Regions from separate parts of the Homo sapiens genome. Here all the other regions are linked to region 3. The links are contacts of gene promoters, found by promoter capture Hi-C in blood cells and fetal thymus (Javierre and others, 2016). All regions are on one chromosome and are shown on one strand. The core of a region is centred on a gene start or on the middle of the fragment in contact, and the rest is flanking DNA. Distances in the headings are between cores, read along the strand shown.

The links. The method cuts DNA at HindIII sites, captures the fragments that hold promoters and counts their contacts. A CHiCAGO score of 5 or more calls a contact.
Region 1: a contact is called between a fragment that was not itself captured here and the fragment with the promoter of HEMK2 in region 3, in 1 of 17 cell types (total B cells). The highest score is 6.9, in total B cells.
Region 2: a contact is called between a fragment that was not itself captured here and the fragment with the promoter of HEMK2 in region 3, in 1 of 17 cell types (fetal thymus). The highest score is 6.2, in fetal thymus.

Annotation. Positions count from the first base shown.
Region 1 is chr21:26,171,593-26,175,054 of GRCh38, forward strand. All of the region lies in intron 1 of APP-DT (APP divergent transcript), which reads left to right. Among named protein-coding and RNA genes, the nearest start is that of APP-DT, 2.5 kb to the left of the region's middle. The HindIII fragment of the contact is 3,625 bases long and covers 1-3,288 here.
Region 2 is chr21:26,836,011-26,839,758 of GRCh38, forward strand. It overlaps ADAMTS1 (ADAM metallopeptidase with thrombospondin type 1 motif 1), which reads right to left. Exons shown (of 9, transcript NM_006988.5): 7 at 3,577-3,748; 8 at 2,429-2,604; 9 at 1-2,268. The coding sequence ends at 1,569. Among named protein-coding and RNA genes, the nearest start is that of ADAMTS1, 7.5 kb to the right of the region's middle. The HindIII fragment of the contact is 1,646 bases long and covers 1,676-3,321 here.
Region 3 is chr21:28,883,022-28,886,794 of GRCh38, forward strand. It overlaps HEMK2 (HemK methyltransferase 2, ETF1 glutamine and histone H4 lysine), which reads right to left and starts at 2,346. Exons shown (of 6, transcript NM_013240.6): 1 at 2,191-2,346; 2 at 1-50. The coding sequence starts at 2,324. RefSeq lists enhancers at 1,645-2,204, 2,200-2,259, 2,205-2,763. The HindIII fragment of the contact is 10,284 bases long and covers 1-2,721 here.

The sequences.
Region 1 (3,462 bases), core at 226-2,725, 2.7 Mb before region 3:
ATTAGGAGAGATCATTCGTATTCGACCCCCGTAAATGAGGACTTCTGACCTCAAACGCTGCCCTTGTTCTTCATTGTGTCTGTCCTGAATTATAGAAATGAACCTTCTGCCATGCCACTTTCTCCTGGATTAAACACAAACCGTCCACTGTCCAGTTAGTGTCCAGATAGTTTAGAATGCTCTAGAACTGCCCAGATATATCCCCTGCTCTTGACCTGAAGTAGCATTTAGTTACCAAGCCACAGCCCACTCCACACAGGGCTTGGAGCGAAGGACTGAAGCCAGGGAGTGCTCTGGCCCTTCTGAGGGCTGCACTGCAGCCTGCCTTCTCTCCCTTGCTCATTGCGCTGACAAGGGTGCCTAGGCCCGGGAAGGATGGCTCAGCCAGCGGGGTACAGACTTCCTTCCTGGGAAGTCATTTCTGTACCAGCTCCCCTAAATGTTGTCTTGTGTGTCTTTTCCCGCACTAGGCATTCAGTCTTGACTCTTGGATTACTTTTGCCCCTGAATGTCCTTTGGATGTCCTCAACAAATAAGGACAAATATTTATTGTCATGCAGTATTTGTTTATACGCTTCATGTCATTTACTTCCTACAAAAGCCAAAGAGGCTGTTACTATTATTCCTATTTATACATCAGGAAAATGAAGCTAATGAACTCCCAAATCTAATAGCAAGTAAGTGACATGAAGCTGGGACAGCAGGGAAAAGCCTAAAGTGACAGGACAAACCCAGTTGTTCACTTTCTGCACCACATTTACCCACCGCAATTCCGTATTTGTTCCGGGTCTGCATGAGCAAATAAGGCAAAAAAGAAGGTATCTGAATGCAAAGAGAAACGTGGTCCAAAGCTACAAATCTTGCAGAGTCCACTGCAAAATGCAAACGTGAGACCCTTTGTTACATTATTAAGAATTTTAAGGCCGGGCCTGGTGGCTCATGCCTGTAATCCCAGCACTTTAGGAGGCCCAGGTGGGCAGATCACCTGAGGTCAGGAGTTCTAGACCAGCCTGGCCAACATGGTGAAACCCCCATCTCTACTAAAAATGCAAAAATTAGCCGAGCGTGGTTACTCCTGCCTGTAATCCCAGCTACTCCAGAGGCTGAGGCAGGAGAATCGCTTGAACCTGGGAGGCGGAGGTTGCAGTGAGCCAAGATTGTGCCATTGCACTCCAGCCTGGGCGACAGAGCGAGACTCCACCTCAAAAAAAAGAAAAAAAATTAAATTAAGAATTTTAAGATGGCAATGGCAGAGCGTTAAACCAAGCATGGGGCTCCTCCCACCGCAGGGCCTGTGAGACTCTCCAGGGTTGCATGCCCATGAAGCCAGCCCTGGGAAGGAGGAGGCAACTTTAAGAGTGAGGGACTTTTCTTTGGGAGGCTGAGGCGGGCGGATCACGAGGTCAGGAGATCAACACCATCCTGGCTAACACGGTGAAACCCCGTCTCTACTAAAAATACAAAAAATTAGCCGGGCGTCGTGGCGGGCGCCTGTAGTCCCAGCTACTGGGGAGGCTGAGGCAGGAGAATGGCGTGAACCCGGGAGGCTGAGCTTGAAGTGAGCCGAGATCGCGCCACTGCACTCCAGCCTGGGCGACAGAGCGAGACTCCGTCTCAAAAAAAAAAAAAGAGAGTAAGGAACTTTTATTGAGCATGAAATTCAAAATTGTAGAGATGAGATCATAATCTATAAAAATTAAAGTTCTTAGATTTAGCAGTTTCTCTTTCCACTGTTGAAATTCACCACACTGACACATTCCCTGGTCAAGATGTTCCTGGGGGAAGATGATTATGCTGCTGATTGCGTCAGAATGATGGACATTGCCTGCATGTTCTCTGGTTCCTTCACTACTCAGAGATCCTGATGGCTTTTTGCTTTTCAGCCACTAGCTCTGTTCTGCATTTAATGCCATTTCCTGCCCTGAGGTGTCTTGCAGATCCTCCAAGCAGAAAACGCAGGAACATCCCTAGTTATAACCCTACAAAGTTGGGGAAGGAACCAACAACCACTTGTCTGCTGGAATTCCTACAACAGCATCCCCATCCTAGTTTCAAGTGTCTCCATTTGTGAGATATTCACTGGCTCTCCAGACTGTGCATTCTATCTTTGGGCATTTCTGGTTACTAGAATGTTCTTATCCCATTTAAAGCTCACATCCCCCGCCTTTAAACTCCCACTCAGATATCCTTGTATCCCCAGTGACCAAGCAGAATAATTCTTTTCCACACTTCAGATCTTTACAAATTTGCCAGCGGTTTTCATGCTACTTCTTCCTCTAGAGTCTTCTCTTCACAAGGTAAAACAGGCACTTCCTTCAACAGTTGCATAATGGCATGGTTTCTGGTTCCTTCCACACCTTGGCCATTCTCTAAATGTGTTCTGGCTTGTCTGTGTCTTTTTACAGTACTCGAAGTGTGCTCTGACTGCTGCAACATGGGAGATGTTGCCCACTACTCTGCCTGGAGCCTCATGTTGCATTTGACTGTTTTAGTAACCGCATCCCACTGCAGACTCCAATTGGTCCAGATACCCCATTTCTATTTTATGCATAGTCTGCTGGGCCGCGTTTCTGTCGTCTTGTGTTTAGGCTGTTATCTGTGCCCTATAAATATCACCAAAAGCAATCGTTAAGTCTGAGCCAGATGAACCCTGCAGGGGTGCCATAACTTACCATAGACTGGATGGATCAAACACCAGAAATGTATTTCCTCACATTTCAGGAGGCTGGAAGTCTGAAATCGAGGTGTTGGCTGAGTTGGTTACTTCTGAGGCCTCTCTCCTTGGCTTGCAGATGGCCACCTTCTCCCTGTATTCTCACATGGTCTTCCCTCTGTGTCTTACTGTGCCCTAATCTCCTCTTGTTATAAGGACAGCAGATATTGGGTTAGGATCCATGCTAATGACCTCATTTAACCTTAATTACATCTTTGACCCTATCTCCAAATATGGTCACATTTTGAGACACTGTCGGGTTAGGACTTCAACATATGAATTTGGGGGTGGGGGTACATAATATGTCCTTCTTTAGAACAGCTAAGACTTATTCTATAATCCTGTCACTCATCTTTGGCCTTTATTTCCAGTGACCTTTCTTTCATTTTCAGTCTGAAGATCATTCAACTCAACAGAAAAAAAAAAAATAGAAATGGAAGAGATCTACTTTCTGTCTGTCCTGCATCAGCATTGCATCATGATCCCCATGCAGCTGGCTTACCCCTCCCGCAATCATCAGGCTCTGAAAAGAAAGAAAATGACCTTTTATACTTTCCTTTAGAAAATTTTGTCAAAGCTTAAACATTGACATTTAATGACATTTAAAATCTGTATTAGTTTACTAGAGCTGCCATAACAAAATATCACAGACTGGGTGGCTTAAACCAAGAAATTTATTTTCTCACAGTTCCAGAAAAGTCTAAGATCAAGATGCAGATAGGATTGGAATCCTCAGAGGTCTCCTTGGC
Region 2 (3,748 bases), core at 1,249-3,748, 2.0 Mb before region 3:
AGAAGTTTGCCAACCACTGATGTATATTATTAGATACATTAGTAACAAATGACATCATAAATTTCTTTCTTTTTAGCAATCATGTATACCAAGGATATAAGAAATACATCTCATTAGAAAAAAATCTTCTATTCAGCCGTCTTGCTTCACCTTCCTCTAGAACAAAATCTTATTGCCAAATAATTTAAGAAAATAATTCGGTCTTCAGATTCAATATTTGTGCCTCAGGTTTCCTTCCTAGGAATGAATTCCCACTTCAAAAAACAGACACACACATTCCAAAAGTGTTCTTTTATTTCTAGTAACATATATTGTATAAATACTCTATTTTATATGCACTTCCACAAAAGCGATATAATTTAAAAGTTTTTTTCATTAGAAATAAATGTATAAAAATAAATATGTTATTATAGGCATTTATTACTAACTATAGTCCTTCTTGGAAGGAACACCCAAACCAATACTTATAAAGTACATGTAATTTATAGTAACATATTTTACTATATACATATGGAAAAAATCATATTCTCACAGAAGAGCTGAACAGACATTCACCAGGATACGACTGTTGGACCAGCTGCTGGAGATGGACCTGCTACCCCTCAGCAGCCTCCCCACCACAAGACAAGTGATCTCAATGTCCCCAAACCTGTGGGACCCTGTTCTACACACCTCATTTTTGTTCCGGCGTTTCATCCTCCTTGTGTGATTGTACTGATTTTCATGAGACACAAGTTACTTCTTTACATCCATATTCCCAAAGCAGGGTTACATGGTAGGAAAGAAAGGAAGTTGGAGGTACTAAGCTCATTGTGTCTCCTCTAGCTTTTACCAGCATCTAATGCTTCACTGCTTTTTTTCCATTGTAGACTTTAATGCACTTGAATAAATACATGGAGTTGTTTTTTCCTCAAAATGAATTACACAAATAAAGACTGAGATGGTCCAAAAAAGGAAAGAGGAAGCCATTTGCGTTATTTCACGTTGCTGAGCCTTTCTCTCATGTTGAACAATCTGAAGTTTTAATTCTCGGTAGAAATAATGTATAAACATTCTCTGAAACCATAGCAGCCATAAACAGTGCTGGTCAAAGATCCTATTTGTACTCCTTTCTCCCCCCATTGTTAGTGAGGTAAAGTAAAACAGGTCTTAGTAAAATCTCACTTTTCTCCTACTTTTCATTTCCCAACCCCCATGATACTAAGTATTTGATAAGTACCAGGAAACAGGGGTTGTAATAGTTCTAACTTTTTTTGACAATTGCTTTGTTTTTTCTAAACTTGTAATAGATGTAACAAAAGAAATAATAATAATAATGCCCGGGGCTTTATTATGCTATATCACTGCTCAGAGGTTAATAATCCTCACTAACTATCCTATCAAATTTGCAACTGGCAGTTTACTCTGATGATTCAACTCCTTTTCTATCTACCCCCATAATCCCACCTTACTGATACACCTCACTGGTTACTGGCAAGATACGCTGGATCCCTCCAGCCTTCTTGCTTTCCCTGCACCAGCCCTTCCTCACTTTGCCTTGCCCTCAAAGCTAACACCACTTAAACCACTTAACTGCATTCTGCCATTGTGCAAAAGTCTATGAAATGTTTAGGTTTCTTTAAAGGATCACAGCTCTCATGAGATAACACCCCTCCATCATGGGACAGACACTTCAAGCTTCTTTTTTTGTAACCCTTCCCACAGGTCTTAGAACATGATGACCACTCCCCCAGCTGCCACTGGGGGCAGGGATGGTCTGCACAAGGTCTGGTGCTGGCTGGCTTCACTTCCTTTGCACACTCGGAAGCAGGCTGTCCATTAATGTCTCGGCATTCTACCAGTCTTCTCTGCCAACCCAATTCACATGACTTAGAACATTCGCCCCACTCTTCAATGACCCATGCTGAAAAAGTGGGGATAGCATTGAAAGATTCCTTCTTCTTCTTTACGAAGTAGGTGTATTTAATTTTAGGTCGAAGGGCATTGCCCACAGTAAGAACCTGGATGGTCAAGGGCTCTTTGAGAGGGCTAAAGCTGCGAATTCTTTCCAATGCCGCAGAGGAGCCGCTGTACCTCAAGACAACACCTTTGTACATAATGTCTTGCTCTAAGGTGGACAAAGTGTAGTCACCATTAAGAATATATGTGCCATCAGCAGCTTTGATGGCAAGAAAGCTGCCATTGTTCCTGGATCCCCTCTGGTTCCGCTGTTTCACTTCGATGTTGGTGGCTCCAGTTGGAATTGTGATGATATCATGATATCCAGGTCTGCAGGTGACAAAAACAGGCATAAATCTCTGATTCATTGGCTAATTAGATTATTTAGCTTAAAAACACATTAATCTTTTATGAGACATATTTTTTTCCCAGACCTGTTGAAAGGCCCATTTAAATTATAAGGTCTGCAAATAGGTGTTTTAAAACTTACTTTGCACTAGTAACTGATCCTGATATTTTTTTACAAGTAGATCCATTTCCCCCGCAAACACCACATTTATCAAACTTCTTTTTGGAGTCTATGATGCGATCACAACCAGCTTTTACACACTGTCCTTGCACACAGACAGAGGTGGAATCTGGGCTACATGGAGTACCATCTACAACCTGAAAAAAGGACACATGTCTAGTGTTACATACAAGCAAAGGAAGGAGATGCTGCAATGATAAGTGTAAACATTTTCTCTCTACTTTCCTGACCATGCTAATTAAACACAGTACCCTCTACACATTATGCATTTCATGCATTTACCCTTCACTTTGGCATATTTTTCAGTACTACGTATAGACATCTGAAGAAATTAGATATTTTTAAAAATTATTTATCTATTGACCTATGTCTCCTCCAGCTAAGGTCAATGAAAGTAGAGCTGTTTGTCACTTTGTTTACTGCTGTATCTTCAGAGCCTAGAATAATTAGTATCTGGCAAGAGTAAGTGCTTCAGAAATCACTTGCTGAATATTGAATCTGCAACTTGGGAATATTTTCATAGCCTATGGTGCTAATGACACACGATCATCTCAATCACATTAAATTCCATTTTCTGTCTCAGATCCAGATGTATTCCCTTAGCAAAACAGCAAAAGAAATGATGCTTTTCCTAGTTCAATATGTGTTTTCAAACATAAAAATAATCAATACTCAGACTACCACTTCTATTATTCTGTTTGCACCTGCTACTGCTAGTTACCCAGTAACAAGTATTTTGGACCATGCATAGACTATTTTCCAAAACTACTGGTTACTGTGTGAATATAAAATGTATCTAACTATGAGCTGTATGTGAAGCCTAGTCGCACAGAGGAGCGCTTGACTGTCCAAAAAGCTTTTCTTTGCATATAAAAGAGTAATAGCGAGCAATTGCAAGCATGTGAAGTGTTAGATTTAAGCTTCATTCATAACTGAAAACACTAAACTCAAAGCAGGCAGTTGCCAATTAATGTAAAAGAAAAGGAGTTCAAATTTGAAATTGAAGATATGTTAATATGGAAAGCAAAGAAAGTATAACAAAAATTGTTTGAAAAGGTAGCAAGCCCAGGCCTTGATTTTTAGGTAAAAATAAGGTAAAAACGAACTACCTTGGGCTGCAAAACGAAGAAGTAGCCAATGCCTTTGGCTTGGCAGATGAGCTTGCACCTGTCCTTTGGTGAGACGCCAGCGTACTTGGGAATCCATTCCACCGCAGGCCCACTCCCAAAGGAAGCTTTTGAAAACTCGTTGTGTGCTTCACATTGTTCCTCTCTAAAGGTT
Region 3 (3,773 bases), core at 1,096-3,595:
ATGCAGATACTACACCAGACCCTGACCCTACTTCCAGGCATATTTCCACTCTGAAAAAAAAATAAATAAATATTAGTATAGTAGAATCAAAATACTCTTCACAGAAAACTCTCATGCTAGTGTTATTTCTAGCATATATATTTCTCTAGCATCATCACTCACCTGCAAATATATGAAAATAGAAATTTATAATTTCTGACAACTACTTTGTACTTAATATTGCATAACTCAAAATTACTAATATTTTGGGTACGTAATATAAGTCCATAAAAGTTATCTATTACCAAACATGGCTTTCAGTTAATTTCAACAAACCATTACATTAAAAAGTATGGAAAAATGTTAATCTAGGGTTGGAAATATTAATGTGAAAGACATCATTCCTTCGCACAAGGAGCTCCTAGCTTAGTATTTCCTAAAATAAAGTTTGTATTATTACAAAATTTATTTTTGAAAAAAGTTCCTCTATCATTTTTAATACCTAACATTCATAGAGCCATCAGTATATCCTAGAGAATTAAAAGGTCCCCCAATAATAGAGCAGGACAAAAATTCTTTTTCTGGACAGCTATATGCTAATTGGGAAAATAGTATCTGATCTTTGAATGTTAACCATCTTAGAATGCTGTTAACTATAAAATCTTCATTCTACTGTACTTTATCTTTCCATTAAATTTATTTTCTTGCCTATAATCTTGGAAGTTGCTTCTTTTTTAGAGACAGGCTCTTGCTCTGTCACCTAGGCTAGAGTGCAGTGGTGCCATCACAGCTCACTGCTGCCTTTAACTCCTGGGCTTGCTCAAGTGATCCTCCCACCTCAGCCTCCCAAGTAGTTAGGACTATAGGCACGAACCACAGTGCCAGCCCTCTATAATGTTATACATGCATCAAAAGCATAAATCATCCCCATTAAAAAGATCAGCTTGATGGCATTTAGGGAAATTTTTAGCACTGAACTCCCAAAACAACTACCCAGTGACAAGCTCCAGAGGTTTTAAACTTTTGGAACCAGTCTACACATCTGACAAGTCTTTATTAGGTGGTAGTAAGGTCTGAGAATCTCACCAGGTGGCTTCTCTTTGAAAATAACTATCATGGTCTCATAAATAATTAGAATTCCAAACTAGAAATAACCCAAGACTTTATAACAAAATCAGCTCCTTTTACAGCATACTTTGCAGTGCAATTTGTGCTTGTAAATCTTTCTGGGCTATCTTGAGAAGAAAAGACAAGTTATAAAACAGTACTGTTCCACTGTATATTCCAGTAGATCCAAAAGTTCCATCATCTACAATGAAAGACTAGTTTAATAAGAGCTGGGACATTTTATACTGGAGAAATATGACCAAGTTTAAGAGGGATAAATAAATACAATATAGATCTTTGAAACCTGAAAGCTGTTTGTTCCATCCTGAGAAAACCCAGTTCATCTTATCTTCAAACAAATCTAACAACCCAAATTCCTTACATTTAAAAATCACAATGTCAGTATTCATTCCTTCTGCTATTAATTTAAAATTGATGGCGATCACTTCAATAAATCCATTTAAATAAAGTGCTAGGGTAGACTATTGTCTGCTAGCTGCATGTAACTTTTTTTTGGTAACAATTAAATGAAAAATTCAGTTCCTCAATAGCACTAGCCACATTTCAAGCGCTCTGTAGCCACATGTGAGGACTGGCTGGTGCTAGAGTATGCTATTCAGTGGGTTTAAAAATATTTCCCCACTCCAGTAACACAACTTTCTTTCATGTTTGTTAAGGGTGCTTTCTATGTGCTGAGTAAATCAAATAATACCATGCAATTTTAATATGTAATACTTTAAAAATATTAATAAGCAATGTTTCCGGAATATTTTGTTTCCAAACGTGTTATACTATCGCTTCTCTCAGGGACATGTGTTCTTCAGATTAACAGGCGACAGGAAAAGATACGCCTTTGCATGGTAAGCAGTCAGGGAGCTCATGAGACAGAGCAGCCCCCTGGCAAAGGAGATGCGTCCCCGGCACACTCATTACTTGTAGCTACAGGAAAATTCTCAATTACGGCGTCCTGGCTGTCAATCATCTGCAAGTGGACCCCGCCTGCTCCGGCTCAGGGCGGTGATAGTCACCGTTCCGGCCCTCCTCCACCGCACTTCTTCAGAAAGCCGCAACCCTTTCCCGTCAGAGCCCCTCCCCTCCTCGCACCCTGCCAGTTCGGCAGCCGCTGCCTCCAGCGCGTCCAAAAGCAGAAACGTGTCCTCCGCGGGCTCGTACACGTCGCTGAAGGCGCCGCGGCCCACGTGCCCGTGGAACGGCGTAGCGAAGTTCTCCCCTGCCATAGTCCTTCGCTGCGTTCCATGCGCGTGCGCAGGGCGTGCGCATGCGCATGCGCATGCCCTCACCCTCATGCGCAGGCCTAGGAGTGGGGCTGGCGTCCCGGGCGACCAGTGTGTTGTTGTTGGGTCTTAATTCTAAATTTGTCAGTGGCTCTCCTTGAAATTGCTAAGTAGACAGTTGTATAATCCGTGACTATTGACATTTGCTTTCTTCTTTGGAACATTTAAATTTTATTCTGTGAACTAGAACCTGATAGTGGGCATTCTGAGTTGTTTTTGACTAAGGTGAATGTTCTTTCTTCATTCTAATGATATTTGGAAATTCTGTTTTATTCCTAGTTTGCAAGGATTTGAAAAAATACATAATAAATTTTACTGTTTTTTTGTCAGCTGAACTTTAAGCTTTACGCTATAAAGATGAAGACTTTCCTCGTTTTTTTACTGTACTTTATAAATTGCCTTCCTGATGAATCATGAATGCACTCTTTTTATAAACCTTAAGCAAGATGATGCGGTTTAATACACTGCTGAATTGGGGAGGCTAATAATCTGGCTCCGTTTTTTTTTACCAAGATTACGCTACCCTCGTTATGTGAGTTAGGACACTGTTTCTGGAACATTAGGTAGAAAGCCTTAAAACTGGCTGGGCTTGGTGCCTTTTTGAGTGAATGGATCTTTGATGTTTTGGAACATCTGTAAGTTATTAGACTATTCAAGTATTTGCATTCTTTTTGAGTCAATTTCTGAAATTTGTTTCGCAATGAAACATTTTTACAGCTCGTTTTTTAAATTTGAGAAATAAAAATACAGAAAAGTATTTGAGGTACAAATTTTATTTTATTTTATTTCTACTTATGTATTTTTTTTTTTTGGAGACAGAGTCTCGCTGTATCCCCCAGGCTGGAGTGCAGTGGCGCGAGCTAGGCTCACTGCAACCTCTGCCTCCCAGGTTCAAGCGGTTCTCCTGCCTCAGCCTCCGGAGTAGCTGGGATTACAGGCGCCTGCAGCCACGGCTGCCTAATTTTTGTATTTTTAGTAGAGACGGATTTTCCCCATGTTGGCCAGGCTGGTCTCAAACTGCTGACTTCAGGTGATCCACCCGCCTTGGGCTCTCAAAGTGCTGAGATTACAGGTGTGAGCCTTTAACGCACCCGGCTGGGTTACAAATTTCAAAACCCCAAGTTTTAAACCCAGAAATGACAGTATTTTCTCATGTTTCCTTAAAATATTTTTTAAATACAAGAACTAAAATATTACAAATAAGATGGATGTTCTTTCTCTATTTGCCTTCAGTTTAATTGTGTAACATTCTCTCCAAGGCTCTTATGGATTTAGTGTATGTCCATCTAATCCATGTAAAAACATGGATCTTGTATTTATACGTTTATAAACATTCATATCTTTATAAGCAACATACGGTGTATTTTAAAATTTACATAACTGGTACTAGGT